2 separate regions of the Homo sapiens genome follow, and region 2 is linked to region 1. The links are contacts of gene promoters, found by promoter capture Hi-C in blood cells and fetal thymus (Javierre and others, 2016). All regions are on one chromosome and are shown on one strand. The core of a region is centred on a gene start or on the middle of the fragment in contact, and the rest is flanking DNA. Distances in the headings are between cores, read along the strand shown. Region 1 holds the start of DNAJC15 (DnaJ heat shock protein family (Hsp40) member C15). Region 2 holds the start of ZC3H13 (zinc finger CCCH-type containing 13).

Region 1 (6,180 bases), core at 850-3,349:
TAATTTTTGTATTTTTAGTAGAGATGGGATTTCACCATGTTGGCCAGGATGGTCTCACTCTCTTGACCTCATGATGCACCCACCTTCGGCCTCCCAAAGTGCTGGGATTACAGGCATGAGCCACCGCGCCCAGCTGGGGATCAGAATTTTTAAGGACAACTCGGTGAGTAGGGGGAAGCCAGTGAGCTGGGAGTGCTGATTGGTCAGGTCAAAGATGAAATCACAGGGAGTCCAAGTTGTCTTGCGTTATCAGTTCCTGGGTGGGGGCCACGAGATCAGATGAGCCAGTTTATCGATCTGGGTGATGCCAGCTGATTCATCAAGTGCGGGGTCTGCAAAATATCTCAAGCACTGGTGGTAGTTTTTACAATAGTGATGTTAGCTCCAGCAGCAATTTGGGGAGGGTCAGAATCTTGTAGCCTCCAGCTGCATGACTCCTAAGTCATAATTTCTGATCTTGTGGCTAATTTGTTAGTCCTACAAAGGCAGTCTAGTCCCCAGGCAAGAAGGAGGTTTGTTTTGGGAAAGGGCTTTTATCATCTTTGTTTCAAACTATAAACTATGAATTACATTCCTCCCAAAGTTAGTTTGGCCTACGGCCAGGAATGTACAAGACAGCTTGGAGGTTAGAAGCAAGATGGTGTTGATTAGGTCAGATCTCTTTCTCAGTTGTAATTTTGCAATGGCGGTTTAATTCCCAGTCCAGTTCTCTTTATACTGCTATGCAATGCATGTGCTCATGTTCTGGTATGTACTATTATTCTGTGTCAGTGTTATCTTCCCTACAAGATTGTAAATTTCTAGGACCTAACTTCTTAGACATGCTAATAATATTAACTAAGTGAACAAATTAATAGACCCTCAAAACTTTAAATTCAGGAATAGAAAAAAAATAAAGCTTTTTCTTCCTGTCAGCTGATTTTGCAAAGGGTATAAGGAGCCAAAGAGCTGCCACGTTGGTACAGAAGTTGGAAAACACCATACGCTTCAACTGCTGGTTAATTTTTGCTCTAAAAACTTGATGGAGGCCAGGCGCGGTGACTCACGCCTGTAATCTCAGCACTTTGGGAGGCTGAAGCGGGCGGATCACCTGAGGTCAGGAGTTTGAGACCAGCCTGGCCAACATGGTGAAACCTCGTCTCTACTAAAAATACACAAATTAGCCAGGTGTGGTGGCACGTGCCTTTAATCCCAGGTACTCGGGAGGCAGAGGGTGCAGTGAGCCAGAGATTGCGCCACTGCACTCAGCCTGGGCAACAGAGCGAGACTCCATCTCAAAAAAAAAAAAAAGCTTAATAATAAAATGGGCTTTTATATATACAAATCAGCACAAACTCATTTGAGGGAGAGTAAGATTTACCTACTTGCTCACAACTTTTTTTCCCCTGCCTCAGGCTCCTGAGTAGCTGGGATTACAGGGACGCACCACCACACCCAGCTAATCTTTGTATTTTTAGTAGAGACGAGGTTTCACCATGTCGGCCAAGCTGGTGTGATCCACCCGCCTCGGTCTCCCAAAGTGCTGGGATTACAGCGTGAGCCACCGCACCCGGCCACAACTTTCTTCTGTGTAATTTCACCTTAAATACAGCCATTTACTTGGGGGTGGAGTAAGCAAATTGCCTCTTTAATTTCTCTCCCGGGGTGGTAGAACTGTGGCATTAAACAGAAGTGCGAACAGAAGTTGAGAGTGGGAAGAAAGGCTGCCCGGAAGGGGGTCAGGAAAGCTCAGGCAAGCCCACCCTCAGGCACTACAGCTAGACTCCGAGCTTACTGGGCAGTCATCTGATTCGACCAACATCAGTTCGCAGGGCTTAAGCCCAGTCCCTTACGGCGGCCTGGGGAGGGACCAGGCCCAAGTATATAAAGCTCCCTGAGGGTCCGCGTTGGCTTTGCGCCTGTGAGTGTGATTCAAGAACGTCCCAGTGCCCTTGGCTCCTTTCGGAGTGTGACCCCGTGCTTGCACGGGACACGTTACCCAGCTCGGGTGAGAAGGGTATCTTCCGGGAACCTCGCCTTTAATAGCACAACGAGCGCAGAGTCCACTGGATCTGCGAGAAGAAACCGCGCTAACTAGTTTGTCCCTACGGCCGCCTCGTAGTCACTGCCGCGGCGCCTTGAGTCTCCGGGCCGCCTTGCCATGGCTGCCCGTGGTGTCATCGCTCCAGTTGGCGAGAGTTTGCGCTACGCTGAGTACTTGCAGCCCTCGGCCAAACGGCCAGACGCCGACGTCGACCAGCAGAGACTGGTGAGTCCTGCCAGCGGCCCCCACCCCTCTCTGGCTCCCTTGTAGTTTCTGCTTCAGCCCCCTCTACCGCCTCACCCTTGAACCTTTGTACTCCCCCGCATTCGCTCACGGTCTGTGCCCTAGCGCTCACTTGTTCAGTGGAGAGACCGCTTTGTGCTGGGCTTTGACGCCTGGGCGTGGAAGACGGAGCAGTTCTGAGGATCTGTCTCCTCAAGGAGCTTCCAGTCTTGTCTGGGACACAAACCAGAAAACAGGCAATTGCAAATACAGTAAAATAAGTGCTGTATGTGGATTTTCCTATCTCATAGGAGGCCCTAAAAACGTCTTGCAGGGGACGTGGTGGGATCAGGGACGCTTCTTGGAGAAAGCTGTAGTTAAAAATTAAGATCTGAATGAATAAAAACAGTCCATTCAGCAAGGAGAAGGGGAAAAAGTGTTTCGGGTACCAGGACTACTGTCTCCAAAGTCTCCGGCACAGAAACAGGGCCCAGTTGGAAACTCCAAGTGGTGTATTCAGGATGAACTGTAGAGCTGGAAAAAGGAAGGGTCTAACAGAAAACTGTCCAACAGAAGCATATTGTGAGCCACATACGTATTTTTACGTTTTTTTTTTTTTTTTTTTTTTTTGAGACGGAGTCTCGCTCTGTCGCCCAGGCTGGAGTGCAGTGGCGCGATCTCGGCTCACTGCAAGCTCCGCCTCCCGGTTTCAGGCCATTCTCCTGCCTCAGCCTCCCAAGTAGCTGGGACTACAGGCGCCTGCCACCACTCCCGGCTAATTTTTTGTATTTTTAGTAGAGACGGGGGTTTCACCGTGTTAGCCAGGATGGTCTCGATCTGCTTACCTCGTGATCCGCCCGCCTCGGCCTCCCAAAGTGCTGGGATTACAGGCGTGAGCCACCGCGTCCGGCATATTTTTAAGTTTTTTGTAGCCATATTAAACAACTGAAGAGAAACAGGTGGGTTTGATTTTAACCATGTATTTTCTTTAACCTGATATATGCACAGTTGCATGGTAATTTTCAACATTCAATATGAAATATTGCCCAAGTGGTGGTTTAGGCTTGTAATCCCAGCGCTTTAGGAAGCCCAGGCAGGAGGATCACTTGAGGCCATGAGTTTGGAGGACAGCCTGGGCAACACAGGAGACCCCATCTCTGCTAAAAAAAAAAAAAAAAAATTAGCTGGGTGTGGTGGTGTGAGCCTGTAGTCCTAGCTGCTTGGGAGGCTGGGTCGGGAGAATCACTTGAGCCCAGGAGTTGAGGTTATAGTGAGCTATGATTTCGCCACTGCACTCCAGCCTGAGAGACAGAGCTAGACCCTGTCTCCAACAAAGAAAAAAAAATGAGGCAGTAGAGATTTAGAAAGTTTTAAGTAACTGGTCCAGGATCATCCCTGGTAAGTGGCAGATCTACGATTCCAAATGCTACACTTTTTCCCTTATGACTTGCTGACTCCTTAGAAATAAGGATTTCTGGATATAGTATTCAGTGTATGATACAGCTGAACAAGATCAGGCAGAAGTAATCCTTTTGTGGAGAGTCGTAAAAATCCGAGTATCAGGCTTTCAAGGTAGTTGGGAGCTGTGGTAATTGGAAGATAGAACTAATATTGGTGACTTTTACATGTGTAGGTATTTTTACTTGGAAGAGGAGAGAGTTTACAGAATCCAGAGTACCACATAGGAAGCATCTTTAGTAGTCCAGGTACTTGAAGGCTAAAGTGTAGGCCAGTGATTCTCAAACTGTCTGTGTCCTGTAATATCCTGAAATCCTGAAGTCAGATTCATAGACAATAAAATCTACCTGTAAACATAACTTTTAATAATCAATATAATGCTTTAATTGAGACATAAAGGTGAAATATTTTATTAGACAATAACATGTCTACAGGCTGCGAGCGGTGTCTCGCTCCTATAATCCCAGCAATTTGGGAGGCTGAGGTGGGTGGATCACTTGAGTCAGGGGTTCGAGACCAGCCTGGCCAACAGGGCAAAACCGTGTCTCTACTAAAAATACAAAAATTAGCTGGGCATGGTAGCACAAGTCTGTAATTCCAGCTAGTAGGGAGGCTGAGGCAGAAGAATTGCTTGAACCCAGGGGGCAGAGGTTGCAGTGAGCGGAGATCATGCCACTGCACTCCAGCCTGGGCGACAGAGCGAGACTTTGTCTCAAAAAAAAGAAAATAACATGTTAACATGTCTACAATTTAAATATGTAAATACTTAGACATTACTACATTAGAAAACATAATGAAGTAATTATTAGTTGCTGTCATATTACACCAATTTGTAGAATCACTGTGTATGTGACAGCTACCAATGCAAATTGTTTATCAAATGTATTATATTGGCTTTTCAAGTAGCAGAAGGACCATTGTTCTTTACAAACTTATTTCTCCTAAATGGTGAACAATTTCTGGTAAAAACTTGAACAAAACAGTGGAATCTCCCTCAATTTACATGGCACTTGCACTTATGGAAGATTCAGTCTGTACTAAAACAGTGTAATAATGATATATTTATATATAATGAAGTTCTGGACTAAGATTATCATAAACTTTTCACCTACTTAATCTTTTAAAATTGAGGGATGCAAACAGTTTTTTGTTACACAGGCTTGTCTCATATATTTTAGGACTTCTACGATCAATGGTCCCCCATCCACCAAATACCCTCCCTTCTATTCAAATTATTGTGCAACCAAACAGGGCCTCACGTACTTTCAGAATGTCCCTAAGGGGTTGTTCTGCTTCTTTTGGGAGTTGTTGGTCCAGGCAATGACCAATAATGAGGCAGAAGATTGTTGATAATAACTTTAGGGAACTTGGAAGTACTGAAAGCAATGAGAAGCTGACAAAAGGTAAATATTAGGAAAGAAAAAAAAATGGCCTAGGTGTAGGGCATATTTGGAAATCTTATGGAAAATAGAAAATAATGTTTGTCAATGAGTTAAAGAAAAACTTTCACACTGTATTTTAAAAATGTAATTCATTTTAAGGTTTATGAAATATATCTTGTTGGGCTGGACATGGTGGCTCATGCCTGTAATTCTAGCAATTTGGAAGGTCAGGTGGGAGAATTACTTGAGCCCAGGGGTTCAAGACCCAGGGTGGGCAACATAGTGAGACCCCTGTCTTTCTAAAAGAAAAATCAAAAAGAAATAAATATATCTTGTCATATTTGTTAAATAACTTTTTCTTAGGTAAGCTTCTCTTTTGAAACTAAGAACTAATGTTCATTAGCCTGCTTAGGAGATTAAAATAATTTTTAAAAATAGGCAAAATATGTAGCATCTTGAATAAAGTTAGCATTTTACAATTAATGGTTTAATAGAAGTCATAATCAAACTTTGCACTAGCAAAGCTGTTTCTCATGGAAAAGTAGAAAAGAAACTTTAAGAGATTATTATCAAATTTTAAAGCAGTTTGAACAAAACTCAGTTTGTATGAAACGGTAGTCATTTAGTTTCCATTACTTTCCTGAAAACTGTAACTCTTACTTTTATTTTTCTTCAATTTTTATTTTAAGTTCCGGGGTACATGTGCTAGATGTGCAGGTTTGTTACACAGGTAAATGTGTGCCGTGGTGGTTTGCTGCACAGATTGTCTCATCACCTAGGTATTAAGCCCAGCATGCATTAGCTATTCTTCCTGATGCTCTCCCTCCTCCCACCCCCACAACTCTTGTTATTATTAGGATAGTGTAACATGTAAAAAAAACTAGACACATATATGTTTCATTATAAACAATCCTGATACGTGAAAACTAAAACCTGTCAAACTAATTTTCAGGCATTTATTCATTTCCAAAAATAAGACAGTACTTTTACTATTTTGCAATGATAACATGATTTAAAACATGTTTTAACAATACTTTGAAGCTTACATTGGTAATCACATGGATTATGTACTGTATACCCATATTTTTAACTTTT
Region 2 (5,778 bases), core at 1,344-3,843, 3.0 Mb after region 1:
GACACAAAGTTTGAGTCTATTAATAAAGACACAACAAAAGAGGGTCTTAAATGGGAACTGCTCCCTTGCCCCGAGAAACTTAGAATAACACTGTACTCAGAAGGTTCACATTATAATTATGGCTGAGAAAGGAGAAGCATACAAAAGGGTCTCTTTTTGAATAATGACTCCAGAAGCTCAATTAATAAAATCTTGTCAATAAACACATATGCGTTCTAGTATCTTCACTTCAATCCATAATTAATTATCTTTTCCAGGTCTCATCTACTGGAAGCATAAGTGAAAGCATAACACTTTAATCCGGATGAGTAGCGGCATAATATTAGGGAAATTTCAAACAATTAGGCAATTAAAACTACATGAATGTACTAACTAGTAGGATAAATCCCTATACTCTGAATTTCTAAGATTAAAAAGGTGATACTAAAAATAAGGTATCTTCACATTTATACTTCATATTTTTAGAAAGAAAAATTAACTTTATTTGATGCATAGTTTGAGAGAATTTTTTAAAAAGAACTTTCTAAAACAAACTTTCAGATTGCTTCCGTAAATTTAATGCTAAAACAATTCCAAACTAAATTCCAAATACAACTGACAGAACTAAGCTGACTACATAGGAATTAGCAAAGCAACACTGCAGTACTATGCAGAAAAAACAATTTGTTAAAAAGACTGTGCACAGAAAACATCCCATGCTGGTAGCTACTCTAAAGTGAAGTAAAAAGAACTGCATCATACAAAAATACAAAAAAAAAAGAATAAAAGACTCTTTCTATATCAACAGCAGTTAATGCTTCAACTACTACTAACAGCTGGAGAAATAGCTCCACCTCTATATGAGATGGAGTTGGGAGAGATGAGGAGGTGAGGAAGACTATCATCCACTGAAAACCAACTCTCTAAGTAAATTTAAGTTAAACAATGTGTTTCCTCTATGTAAATGCCAATGCATATTATAAATACTGATGATATTACAATTTTAATAATTTGTAAAGATGTTAAGATACCATCCACTTGCTGGATTTTTAGTATGTTAAATTCATATTACAAATATGAAAATCACATAAGCTTGCAAATCTCAAAATATGCAATGTTCATTTAGAATGACCAGTAATCAGGAAGCCAGTAAGAGGCATACATTTGATAAAACTGAATCCTACCAGATGCACAGAGTGAAAGCCTTAGTTTCAGAGTGCAACTATTTTTAAAGCCGCAATTGTTACAAGCTTGCATCAACTTTGCTAGTCTCTAGTTGAAACTGTCATCTGTTATAATCTAAATAGTTCATTAAGAAAATAAAAATTATTTGAAAATCTATAGATTGTATTCACAAAACGCTCCAATATATTGTACTAAAGCCAGTAATTTCAAATGTTACAGAACTAGACCCCGCTAACTGGCACCATATACCCATAGACTGAACTGCATAAGTATTTATTCTCCAACGGTATCGCGGACTTCGAAAACTTGAGGTGTAAAGATGTTTTCCAAATTTTTAAAACTACTTTAAAAATCCAAAAATCTTAAGAGACTTCATACTCCCATAATTTTCAAAGTAGTTCGAATTACCTGAAAGCCCCATAGTATAACCAAATACCTTAAGACTACCCTTCACAAACAACATCTTACCAACATAATTCAAGTATTATCAACTCTAAATAATTTTCAAACCACATAAATTGCGTTAGCCTATTACAGAGAGATAATGCCGCCAAACAGACTCTCTTCTTTCTATTCCACTTTCCCCCGTTTCTGACAGTTGCCAAAACTACCTACCTAAGGCTTGTGAAGATAAAGTAGCACTCAATTCCCAGGACCTAAATCGTTATCACTGCTGAGGGAAAAAAAAAAAAACAAGACCAATCACAAGTAAGATGTTTTTCTCTAACAGATCTGGAATGAGTATAGAGGAAGATTCTAAATTTAAGCCCAAATTGCTGCACCCTTCCATCGCACACAAATACGAACACCATACAAGGGTTCCCGTGCTTACATCAAATGGTAACGAGGGGTACAGCCTATTGTCTGAGTCTACTTATCGCCCTTAGACAAATGCCAGAATCATAATCAGAGTGAGAAATTACGCCTGAGCACAGGGGGCTATTGCAGAGTTAAGGGTGGGATGCTCAAGGAAAGCTCAAAATCCCAGTGACTCAAGCAAAGACGGGGGGGGGTAACCCGGGCCTCCGCATTACGGGTCCGCTCAATGCCTTCCCCAGATACCCACACCAATTCACAGAACGCTTACTTCCTCCCCAAGCTCCCTTCGCAAGTGCAGTCCGGAGGCACCACCGCCGCCGCCGCTCCGAGGAGCGGGGGAGGCGACTCTGTCCCCGCGCCTGGACCCAGGAGGACGACGACGAGGAGAAAGCGATGCGCGCGCGGCTCCCGGGAACCGGCTCTTGGCTAGCGAGGAGCCCCCGGGATGGCTGAGAAGCAGAACCAACCCGCCCGCCGCCTCTCCAGGGTCAAGCGAAACTGGGTCGCAGGAAGAAAAATAACGAAGAGATTGTAGATTAAGAAAAGGCAACAAAAACACTACCAGGCCGCTAGGAGGACCGCCTCAAAATGCCGCCGGAAGTCAGAGGTTTGCCCTGTTCCTCTGTAGACCCAGGCAGCTTCCGGCCGTCAGATTAGTCGTCAGTGCGCAGACACCACCCTTCGTGGACACGCCCTCTAGGCGTAAGGTTCCATGCGAGCGGTAAGAGTGCGGCGGGACTTGGAAATCGAATCTGTGCTCTGTGAGAGATCCTAGGAAAGGAAACTGGGAGCCCGGGAGAACTAAAATTCCCAATTAAAAGTGAATTTAAGTGAGTTTTCTCTTTTTATTACATAATTCCTTACCATAAACAGCTGTTGTAAATGCGCAAAATGCGGCATTTGTTGACAGTACCTAGAGCCACTCATTCATTCGTTCAACAGTGTTTATTGAGCAGCTGAGCTGGAATGAGAGGCTATGTTTGTCGTTTTTGACACCCCTCCCCTTTCTGGGCCATCGCCTAATTACCGTGGAGCAAACGGAATGCATGGTTGTATTTCTAAAGGCACAAGCAGAAATTTATTGAAAATTTGGAGCAGAAATCTTTAATGTACTTCTGACCACCCTTCCTTTTGTTGAGTAGGATCCAATGATCAGCGTGAGATGATCATTGATTAAACTTGCTTGAGATGGCTAGTCAAACGTCGAAACTTGCTTGAGATGGCTAGTCAAACGTCGAAAATCAAAGAAAAAGTAGGTAACTAGACTTTTACAATTTTTTTTAAAGGGTAAAAAGACATGAACCCTAGTCTGCCTTAATGGCAAAGTAGCACTTATTAGGTTCTCTGACAGAACCAAGGAATAGGAAAATCTTTTATCAAAACTACGGATAAAACTTAAAAATAATTTGATACAATGATTTGGTCTTGCTGGAATCAGTAAATTAAAATACGGAAGCAGAATGATAAAATCAGGGGCATTAAACATTCCTAATGACATGCCAAGCTATTTTAGAGACAGCGGCAAAAGCTTCTCTACAGGTGGGTTTGATGTAACGCTCCGGCAGCAAGAATCCGTATGTGCCCGTATCTCGAAGTTCAATTGTAAACGAATATTTGATGCCCAAATCATAGATCCAATCGTCCCCACCTCCAGGAGCTAGGTCTAAAAGAAGAAGAAAGAAATTGTTGAAATACAGACGTTTCAAATTAATTTACAAACTGGGAATTGTTTGATTTAAATGTTTATTTGTTTGTATACCTTTAGATTTTTTTCAGTTTTTAACTAATATAAACAACTTTACAATGAGTACCCTTGTTTATACATAATTGCTTCTTTGTCTCTTTAGAATATTCTTCCCTAGAATAGATTTGCTAGTCTAAGGCTCTGTACTTTTTGCAATTACGGCATGTTCCCAAATGGACGTCAAAAGAACTGAATTCATTTATACTTCCACAAGCAGGGTATGAATTTGCCCATTTCCCCTTCCCATACCATCAATAGGAATTATGAATTCTGATAATTTTATGGGCGAAAAATAATATCCAACTGTCTTAATTTATGTTTTTTGATTATCAGTGAGTTGCACATTTGTTTGGCATATTTATTGGCTATCTTTATATTTCCTATCAATTGTCCTTCCTCATTTGTCTACTTGGTTCATTTTATCAATTGCTTATAAAAACGACATTAGTGTTATTAGCTTTGTTTGGCATGTAGACCTTTTTTTCTCCTTTCATTCATTTCTCCTTTCACAAGAATTTTTTCTCCTTACTGAGATTTCAACTTGGTTTATGCAGGGTTTTCATATGAAAATATATGCTGTACCTGGAATTTACTTTGGTGAAAGACATGTTAATAATCCAATTAATTTTTTTCTAGGTAACTTGTTAGGTTTTCCAACCGCATTAATTGAATAATCTGACTTTTTTTGGGGGGGTGCTAAATTGAGTCCAGGTTTATGGCAAAGTCTGACCCAAAATTTTAATTTATAATTTTAGCATCTATCTAATACAGTTTGGGAAGCATCTCATGAAAGCTACAATTGCCAGAAGACTTGTTACAGTTTAATGCATGTTAACTAAAATGTGTACATATTTTAGTGTTCATGATAAATACAGTTTCGACCTTTTTTGAGATGGAGTCTCACTCTGTCACCCAGGCTAGAGTGCAGTTGCACAATCTCAGCTCATTGCCACCCCCACCTCCCAGGTTCAAGTAATTCTTATGCATTAGCCAACCAAGTAGCTGGCATTACAGGCGCCTGCCACCATGCCCAGCTAATTTTTGTATTTTTAGTAGAGACAGGGTTTCACCATGTTGGCCAGTCTGGTCTCGAACTCCTGACCTCAAGTGATCCTCCTGCCTCAGCCTCCCAAAGTGCTGGTATTACAGGCATGAGCCACAGCACCTGGCCTCTTTTTGTTTTTTTCTAATCATTAAAAAAAAAAAAAAAAGGAAAAACCTGGATTTGGCCTTCAGGCTGTAGTTTTCTGATGCCTGGTTACAGGTTTATTTTATGCTCCTCTTTTCCCATCTCCCTTCAAACTTCAAAAGGGCAAAATCAGTCTGTCCTCCCACTGTGTGTAGATAGGAGTTACTCACTAAATATCTTTCAGCAAAAATTAATCAAAACTTTTTGTTAAGAGTTTGTCACAAGTTTTGTGTGTGTAATATATATTAAAGACAATCAACTGTAATGTGTTATGAGCTATACTCTTGGGAACAGGCTAACACTAAAAAACACTTGATGCAAATGGCATGCCCTAGATTAGTGTAGTGTACAACCTGCACAACCTTCCATGGTGGCCCTGGGAATCATGCAAAAGTTTTATGAACTTTTCTGCTTCACTCAACTAGTATGATGCCAATTCTGTAATTCCTACTTGATTGTGATAAATATGATTTCTTAAATAGGATTTTGGCTTCTTTTTAGTAACTCATTTATTAATATAGCTTTGTTCAGCATTGTCATAGCTATTATGCTTCTGTTCCTAATTATTACAATTCAGTTGTATTACATGTGACCCTATTTAATTCAGAAAAATTAAATACACAAAGAAAAACAGATCACACAGATTTCTTTAGTAGCTCAAAGTTCTCTAAGATCATAAGAAGAAATACTTACATAAGGTTTCTGAGCCATGGCCATGTGTATACCTGGTATTTTTACTAATTTTCTCAATAGCACGAACTGCTTCACTGGCTACTAGAGACTGGAAGCAACAAGATATAGAATTTCAGTTAATGTGCAGCTTTGAAACATGACAAGTAGAAGTTTCTAAAAAATAATCATA

Evidence for each region. The method cuts DNA at HindIII sites, captures the fragments that hold promoters and counts their contacts. A CHiCAGO score of 5 or more calls a contact.
Region 2: the fragment with the promoter of ZC3H13 here is called in contact with the fragment with the promoter of DNAJC15 in region 1 in 1 of 17 cell types (naive CD8 T cells); the score reaches 6.6 in naive CD8 T cells.

What each region holds. Positions count from the first base shown.
Region 1 is chr13:43,021,487-43,027,666 of GRCh38, forward strand. It overlaps DNAJC15 (DnaJ heat shock protein family (Hsp40) member C15), which reads left to right and starts at 2,100. Exons shown (of 6, transcript NM_013238.3): 1 at 2,100-2,248. The coding sequence starts at 2,141. RefSeq lists enhancers at 1,919-1,978, 1,989-2,038, 2,549-2,598. The HindIII fragment of the contact is 4,162 bases long and covers 1,290-5,451 here.
Region 2 is chr13:46,050,153-46,055,930 of GRCh38, forward strand. It overlaps ZC3H13 (zinc finger CCCH-type containing 13), which reads right to left and starts at 2,594. Exons shown (of 19, transcript NM_001330564.2): 1 at 2,252-2,594. CPB2 (carboxypeptidase B2) reads right to left here. Exons shown (of 11, transcript NM_001872.5): 10 at 5,610-5,697; 11 at 3,034-3,646. The coding sequence ends at 3,462. CPB2-AS1 (CPB2 antisense RNA 1) reads left to right here and starts at 2,696. Exons shown (of 3, transcript NR_046227.1): 1 at 2,696-2,813. RefSeq lists enhancers at 1,778-2,314, 2,315-2,850, 2,380-2,549, 2,560-2,759. The HindIII fragment of the contact is 2,282 bases long and covers 1,228-3,509 here.